Linked DNA regions of Homo sapiens: regions 2 and 3 are each linked to region 1. Evidence: promoter capture Hi-C in 16 types of primary human blood cells and fetal thymus (Javierre and others, 2016). All regions are on one chromosome and are shown on one strand. Each heading gives the region's core, a stretch centred on a gene start or on the middle of the fragment in contact. The rest is flanking DNA. Distances are from core to core; before and after follow the strand shown. Region 1 holds the start of DEDD2 (death effector domain containing 2). Region 2 overlaps CXCL17 (C-X-C motif chemokine ligand 17). Region 3 overlaps LIPE (lipase E, hormone sensitive type).

What was found. Contacts are between HindIII fragments. The CHiCAGO score rates a contact against its expected background, and 5 or more counts as called.
Region 2: a contact is called between a fragment that was not itself captured here and the fragment with the promoter of DEDD2 in region 1, in 2 of 17 cell types (total B cells and fetal thymus). The highest score is 5.4, in total B cells.
Region 3: a contact is called between a fragment that was not itself captured here and the fragment with the promoter of DEDD2 in region 1, in 1 of 17 cell types (fetal thymus). The highest score is 7.0, in fetal thymus.

Annotation. Positions count from the first base shown.
Region 1 is chr19:42,216,379-42,219,053 of GRCh38, reverse strand. DEDD2 (death effector domain containing 2) reads left to right here and starts at 1,377. Exons shown (of 5, transcript NM_133328.4): 1 at 1,377-1,422; 2 at 2,009-2,374. The coding sequence starts at 2,047. RefSeq lists enhancers at 1-141, 142-1,018 and silencers at 1,790-1,889, 1,900-1,959, 2,041-2,246. The HindIII fragment of the contact is 12,709 bases long and covers 1-2,675 here.
Region 2 is chr19:42,436,716-42,439,390 of GRCh38, reverse strand. All of the region lies in intron 1 of CXCL17 (C-X-C motif chemokine ligand 17), which reads left to right. All of the region lies in intron 1 of LIPE-AS1 (LIPE antisense RNA 1), which reads right to left. Among named protein-coding and RNA genes, the nearest start is that of CXCL17, 4.9 kb to the left of the region's middle. RefSeq lists a silencer at 695-874. The HindIII fragment of the contact is 1,373 bases long and covers 637-2,009 here.
Region 3 is chr19:42,414,609-42,417,283 of GRCh38, reverse strand. All of the region lies in intron 1 of LIPE (lipase E, hormone sensitive type), which reads left to right. The region is part of intron 1 of LIPE-AS1 (LIPE antisense RNA 1); the gene reads right to left. Among named protein-coding and RNA genes, the nearest start is that of LIPE, 11 kb to the left of the region's middle. The HindIII fragment of the contact is 1,173 bases long and covers 740-1,912 here.

The DNA.
Region 1 (2,675 bases), core at 128-2,627:
GGAATGCAGGCGTGAGCCACCGCACCTGGCGTTTGTTTGTTTCTTGAGACAAAGTCTCGCCCTGTGGCCCAGGCTGGAGTGCAGTGGCACTATCTCTGCTTACTGCTCCCTGGTTCAAGAGATTCTCTTGTCTCAGCCTCCCAAGTAGTTGGGATTTCAGGCGCGTGCCACCACATCCGGCTAAGAACAGACAGGGTTTCATCATGTTGGCCAGGCTGGTCTCGAACTCCTGGCCTCGTGTGATCCGCCCACCTCGGCTTCTCAAAGTGCTGGGATTACAGACGTGAGCTACCGCGCGCAGCCGATTCTTTTGAATTCACTGCTACAGCTCAGGCAGAGCCAGTACTGGGCCAGTGCTAGGCAGGACCCAGATCTCCCGACTCCCAAGAGGAGTTAATTGCGGGGGTGGGAAGAGGTCCAGGGAGGGGACTTGTCTCAAGTACATGCAGGTCCTGACCTTGAGTCACCTAAGTGGGGGGCGTGGCGACCGTCACACCCAAGGCCCCGCGGTAAGGGGACACGCATACACCACAGCCTAGACTCCCTGACAGACCCTCTCTAGTTGTTGCAAGTTAGGGAGCGGGTATCTGGGCGACCCTGGAGGGCAGAGATTGGAAGGGGTTACGGAGGGGCCGTTTTGGCTCTGGGTGGAGACATCTGACTGTGATGGGGGTCGTGATGGACGCCATCGAGATGTACACAGTCGGAATGGAGGGTTCTGTTGCCGCTTGGAAGGAGGTATCCGTCCTGAACGTGAGATGAGGGAATTCTGGTTTTGATCAGGGGAAGGAACTTATAGACTGCGGGGGTGGTGGTGGGGGGGCGGGATTTCCATTTGGGATCACGAGAGAGCACAGTTGAGATGTAGATCCCTGGTTGTCACTAGAAGTGAGGGACAATCTAATGGAGGAGTGCCCAGGACCAGATCATATAAGGCCTGGGAGTTTACTGGGAGACGGGAAAGTAGTGATTGTGTTACTTTGCCACGGGCAACTAGGGGCAGTGGTGATGTGGGCGTCTAGCTCGTGATCAGGAGGGGGCTGTAGTTTATGAGATGAGTAGTTACAACTACTCGTGACGTGGCGCTACATGGCCCCGGTGGCTTGAGTCACGGGCAGGAAGTAGGGACCTGGAACCGGGTACCAGATACAGCCCAAGAGGCGGCGTGCTCTCGCTCTGCGCAAGCGCAGCACTCGCGAACCAAGATGCTTCGGTTGGGGGCAGGTCAAGCGGCCCAGGAAGGGCGGGGCTTGGAGGCCTCGTTCTGCGCATGCGCCGAAGGGGCGTGGCGGTCGCACCTGCGCGAGTTGGGGGAAGGAGGAGGGGCGAGGTGACGCAGGCGTAATAATAGAGAAGGTGCCAGAAAGATCCAAAACAAGTGGCTGCGGCCGTCGCCCAGGAGTCATCGGACGCCAGAATCTGGTGAGGATCCAGAGAGGCCTAATGGTGACTGGTGGCGGGTAGACAGGACCACCTGGGCTCTGGGGAGCGGGCGGGGCCGCCCTTGCAGGGCGAGGGGGTCGGGTTCGGACGGTACCACCTGTGTGGAGCAAAGGGGCTGCCTGGGTCGCTCCTCTGTGTAGGGGGCAGAGGGTCACTTTCGGGAGGTACCACTTGCGTAGAGCCGGGGGACTCATCAGACGGTACCGCTGGACGGAGAAAAGGGGCTCGTCTGGGCAGTCCTACCCAGAGTCAGGGGCAGTCAGCAGGGAGCCCCGGGGTGGGCCCCGAGGCTTGTTTGGGCCGCATCGTTTGGTCAGGTCCGGAGGCGAGCTCCGAACGTAGCACGGTGGTGGGGGCAGAAGCCGAGCGGGCTCCGGCGTCCCGACCTGTTCTTAGGGGACCTCGGGCGGGACCATTCCCTCCCGGGGGAGGGGGAGGCCGAGGCGGTTGGGGGTGCGGGAGCGGCCCTGCCCGGCGCGATTGGGCGGGGGAGACGCGCTGGCGGTGTGGGGTTCGGGCCTCCGCGTCGCTGACCACTGCCCCCTCCCCGCTGTGTGGGTTCTAGGCCGGGTTCTGAGCTTGTTCCGCCTCCCTCCCCCGGGAATGGCGCTATCCGGGTCGACCCCGGCCCCGTGCTGGGAGGAGGATGAGTGCCTGGACTACTACGGGATGCTGTCGCTTCACCGTATGTTCGAGGTGGTGGGCGGGCAACTGACCGAGTGCGAGCTGGAGCTCCTGGCCTTTCTGCTGGATGAGGCTCCTGGCGCCGCCGGAGGCTTAGCCCGGGCCCGCAGCGGCCTAGAGCTCCTGCTGGAGCTGGAGCGCCGCGGGCAGTGCGACGAGAGCAACCTGCGGCTGCTGGGGCAACTCCTGCGCGTGCTGGCCCGCCACGACCTGCTGCCGCACCTGGCGCGCAAGCGGCGCCGGCCAGGTACGGTTGAATGGGAGGGTGTCACACTTCCTGGGAGGAAAGGGCCTGGCTCCCGCTGGGCCTCCCTGGTGCCCTGATACGGACAGTGCCATATCAGGCAGCTTATGTCCCATTCTGCTACTCTCTCTTCCCACAATATCAATGAGCAACATAAGAGGAAGAAAGCATGGCTTTGGGAATTTGGCCACATCAGTGATGATGATTTTGGCCACTGTTTACGGAGGGCTTGTTTCATGCCAGGCACAGCTGTCAGCCCTTCATATGAACTAGTGCCTTATAGTCTCCCAGTAATCTCACAAGG
Region 2 (2,675 bases), core at 74-2,573, 220 kb before region 1:
ATAAAGAATTATTACTGTGGTGTTGGCCAAATAGTGATTTTCTACTTCCATTGTTCCTTCTACATTTATTTAATCGGAATTCTGCCATAAGAAAGAGTTATTCCTTTTTCTTTTTCTTTTTTTTTTTTTTTTTTTTTGAGATAGAGTCTTGCTCTGTTGCCTAGGCTGGAGTGCAGTGGTGTGATCTTGGCTCACTGCCGCCTCCACCTTCTGGGCTCAAGCGATCCTCCCACCTCAGCCTCCTGAGTAGCTGGGACTACAGGCAGACACCACCACACCCAGCTAATTTTTGTATTTTTAGTAGAGACGGGGTTTTGTCATGTTAGCCAGGCTGGTCTCTAATTCCTGGCCTCAAGTGATCCCCCCACTTTGGCCTCCCAAAGTGCTGGGATTACAGGCGTGAGCCACCATGCCTAGCCTCTTCCTTATTTATTTATTTGTTCAGTTATTTATTTATATCAGCATGGACTCATGAGTATTTATGGGTTGGAATCCACTACTATCATTATTTATTATGTTGCTCATATTGTCCCAAAATTGGCCATTGGGAGCTCCTTCTAGTTGGCTTCTGTGACCTTTAGACACATCTCCACCATTTTTTGAGCAGCTCCTTACTTTCTGACACCACAAGAAGCTTTGGGCTCCTCTTGTGTTTTTCTGCCCCAGCCCTGGATCAGCTATTTTTCCTGGAAGCCCTAGTTCCTTTCATGGGAGAATGATATTTACAGACTATGGGCACTGACTGATAGGTCCATTGCTAGTAGGTGCTGGTGCTTCTAGGCCCTCTAGTGGTCAGAGCTGGGAAATAACACACACGCACACTCATGTACAGTAGTCCCCACTTAATCGCAGTTTCAGTTACCCGCCAACAGTGGTCCAAAAATATTGTTATCTTGAGAAAGAGACAAAGAGAGAGAGAGACCACATTCACGTCATTTTCATTACAGTATATATGTGTGTGTGTGTGTGTGTGTGTGTGTATTTTATATATATATATATATATATATATTTTTTTTTTTTTTTTTTTTTTTTTTTTGAGACAGAGTCTCTTGTCGCCCAGGCTGGAGTGCAGTGGTGCAATCTCGGCTCACTGCAAGCTCTGCCTCCTGGGTTCACACCATTCTCCTGCCTCAGCCTCCCGAGTAGCTGGGACTAAAGGCGTGCGCCACCACACCTGGCTAATTTTTTGTATTTTTAGTAGAGATGGGGTTTCACCGTGTTAGCCAGGATGGTCTCAATCTCCTGACCTCGTGATCCGCCTGCCTCGGCCTCCCAAAGTGCTGGGATTACAGGTGTGAGCCCCCACCTGGCCTATTACAGTATATTTTTAAAATTGTTCTATCTTATTGTTAATCTCTTACTGTGCCTAATTCATAAATTAGACTTTATCGTAAGTGTATATGTGTAGAAAAAATATATATATAGGGTTTGGTACTATCTGAGACTTGAAGTATCTTGGGGGTCTTGGAATGCATCCCCTGTGGATAAGGGAGGAATATTATTAACCACATCTTACAAATTAGGAAAATGAGGCACAGAAAAGTTACACAACTTTGTCCAAAATCACAAAGCAAATATGTAGTGGATCTGGGAAGTGAAAATAATGACAGATGCACCACAAATCCTAACAAGTGGAAGTAACTTCTTTACACATCCACATCAGCAGAAAGCCACAAGCCCAATATTCCAGCATAGACACTCACTTTGGAAAATAACCAGAATTCCACAGCAATAAACACAATGATAACCATCATGTACTCAACACCCGCCTGGACACTGGGCTCCCACAGCAGCTCACTTATTCCCAACAACTCTGCAAGGAGGATTTTACCACCCTCCTTTCACAAATCAGGGAATCAAGGATCATAGAAGCCAAGTGACTTGTCCAAGTCGACAGTTAAGTGACAGAGCCAGTAGCTGACCCCAGGCCTATGTGGATATAAAGTGCATGCTTATGCCACTGTATCAGTGGTTCCCAAAACTGATTTTAGGTGGAAAGTAAATAAGCTTCTTTTTACTTTAATATTTATGTGTTTATTCCAATGCATGTTAGGAAAAAACTAAGCATACATCAAACCTGTAATTTCACAGATAATATTGCATAGGATGAGGATGTTTTGCAAAATAAATTTGTTTAGAGAAAAAGTATAAAGTGGCCAGGCATAGCATCTCATGCCTATAATCCCAACGCTTTGGGAGGCCGAGGGGAGCGGATCACTTGAGGTTAAGAGTTCAAGACCAGCCTGACCAACATGGTAAAACCTGCCTCTACTAAAAATACAAAAATTAGCCAGGCATGGTGGTGGGTGCCTGTAATCCCAGCTACTTGGGAGGCTGAGGAAGGAGAATTGCTTGAACCCGAGAGGCAGAGGTTGCAGTGAGCCGAGATCACAACACTGCACTCCAGCCTGGGCGACAGAGTGAGACTCCGTCTCAAAAAAAATAAATAAATAATTAAATGAAAAAAAATTTAAACATTAGTATAGCTCTTCTGAAAGCAATTCTTAACTTTTGACCCAGTAATTCCACTTTGGGAACTCTCTCTCAAGAAAATAATCTAAAATTTGGAAAACAGTTACAAGAACAAAGAAATTTACCAACATCTAAAAAATAAAACTTTCTAAATATTCAGCAATGGGAAAGCAGTTAAATAATTTGGAACACATAATTATTGA
Region 3 (2,675 bases), core at 77-2,576, 200 kb before region 1:
CATCTCTAAAACTAAAAATTTTAAAAATAAGAATAACAAATAATAAGACTTAAAAGTTGAAATTGGCCGGGCGCAGTGGCTCACGCCTGTAATCCCAGCATTTTGGGAGGCCGAGGCAGGCGAATCACGAGGTCAGGAGATCGAGACCATCCTAGCTAACATGGTGAAACCCCGTCTCTACTAAAAATACAAAAAATTAGCCAGGTGTGGTGGCGGGCGCCTGTCGTCCCAGCTACTCAGGAGGCTGAGGCAGGAGAATGGCGTGAACCCGGGAGGCGGAGCTTGCAGTGAGCTGAGATTGCGCCACTGCACTCCAACCTGGGCGACAGAGCGAGACTCCGTCTCAAAAAAATATAATAATAATAACAAATAACAAGACTTAAAAGTCGAAATTACTCCTTGGCTGGTGGGCTGCAGAACAGATCATGTGTTAGCGGGCATGAAAACACATTAATCTACTCCACCAGGGCCCTTTGGTAACCACATGCATTGTCATTGAGAAATATTTTGTTGTTTTCTGTGCAGTCCGTCTCAACAGTGGGCTTGAAATATTCAGTAAACCATGCTGTAAACAGACGTGCTGTCATCCAGGCTTTGTTCCATTTAAGAGCATAGGCAGAGTACATTTGGCGTAATCCTGAGGGCCCTAGAATTTCTGGAATGATAAATGAACACCGGCTTCAACTGAGTCACCAGCTGCATTAGCCCCTAACAAGGGGGTCAGCCTGGCCTTGAAGCTTTGGCGCCCAGGCACTGACCTCCCCTCCAGCTAGGAAAGTCCTGGATGGCATCTTCTTCCAATACCTGGTGGTTTTATCTACACTGAAAATATGTTGCTTAATGTAGCCGTCTTCATCAATGATCTTAGCTAGATCTTCTGCATAACTTGCTGCGGCTCCTCCAGCAGCACTTGCTACATCACCTTGCACTTTTTTTTTTGAGACAAAGTTTCACTCTTGTTGCTCAGGCTGGAGTGCAATGGCACGATCTCGGCTCACTGCAACCACCGCCTCCCAGGTTCAAGTGATTCTCCTGCCTCAGCCTCCCAAGTAGCTGGGATTACAGGCATGCGCCACCACGCCCGGCTTCTTTTTTGTATTTTAAGTTGAGATGGGGTTTCTCCATGTTGGTCAGGCTGGTTTCAAACTCCCGACCTCAGGTGATCCACCTGCCTCAGCCTCCCAAAGTGCTGGGATTACAATCGTGAGCCACGATGCCCGGCCGTCACCCTGCACTTTTATGTTACAGAGATGCCTTCTTTCCTTAAATCTCATGAATCCACCTCTGCTAGCTTCCAACCTTTTTTCTGCAGCTTCCTCACCTCTCTCACCCTTCAAAGAATTGAAGAGGGATAGGGCTTCGCTTGGGATTAGGCTTTGGCTTAAGGAAATGTGGCTGGTTTGACCTTCTATCCAGACCGTTCAGACTTTCTCCATATCCACAATAAGCCTAGTTCACTTTTTTTTTTTTTTTCCAGACGGAGTCTCACTCTGTCACCCAGGCTGGAGTGCAGTGGCGCGATCTCGGCTCACTACAAGCTCCGCTTCCCAGGTTCACGCCATTCTCCTGCCTCAGCCTCCCTAGTAGCTGGGACTACAGGCACCCACCACCACGCCCGGCTGATTTTTTGTATTTTTAGTAGAGCTGGGGTTTCACCGTGTTAGCCAGGATGGTCCCGATCTCCTGACTTCGTGATCCGCCCGCCTCGGCCTCCCAAAGTGCTGGGATTACAGGCATGAGCCACCATGCCCAGCTAAGACTGGTTCACTTTCTTATCATTCATGTGTTCACTGGAGTAGCACTTTTAATTACTTTCATGAATTTTTCCTTTGCATTCACAACTTAGCTAACTGGCAGAAGAGGCCTAGTTTTTAGCCCGTTTCAGCACTGGACATGCCTTCCTCACTAAGCTTAATCACTTCTGGCTTTTGATTTAAAATGAGAGACATAAGACTCTTCTTTCACTTGAACACTTTGAGGTCATTGTAGGGTTGTTAATTGGCCTGATTTCTATTTTATTTTATTCTATTTTTCATCTCATTTCATTTATTTGAGACAGACTCTCGCTCTATTTTCCAGGCTGGAGTACAATGGTGTGATCTTGGCTCACTACAACCTCCACCTCCCGGGTTCAAGCGATTCTCCTGCCTCAGCCTCCCGAGTAGCTGGGATTACAGGCACACACCACCATGCCCAGCTAATTTTTGTATTTTTAGTAGAGATGGGGTTTCAGCATGTTGGCCAGGCTGGTCTCAACCTCCTGACCTCAAGTGATCCACCTGCCTCAGCCTCCCAAAGTGCTGGGATTACAGGCATTAGCCACCGTGCCCGGCCTCAATATTGTATGTCTTAGGGAATATGGAGGCTCGAGAAGAGAGATGGGGGAAATGGCTGGTCAGTGGAGCAGTCAGAACACACACAGCATTAATCGGTAAAGTTCGCCCTCTTACGTGGACATGGTTGGTGGTGCCCCCACTCACAATAGTAACACCAGAGATCATTGATCACAGATCATCATAACAAATATAATAATAATGAAAAAGTGTGAAACACTGTGAAAATTACCAGAATGTGACACAGAGACACAAAGTGAGCAACTGCTGTCAGAAAAATGGTGCCAACAGACTGGTTTGACGCAGGGTTGCCACAAACCTTCAATTTGTAAAAAATGCAGT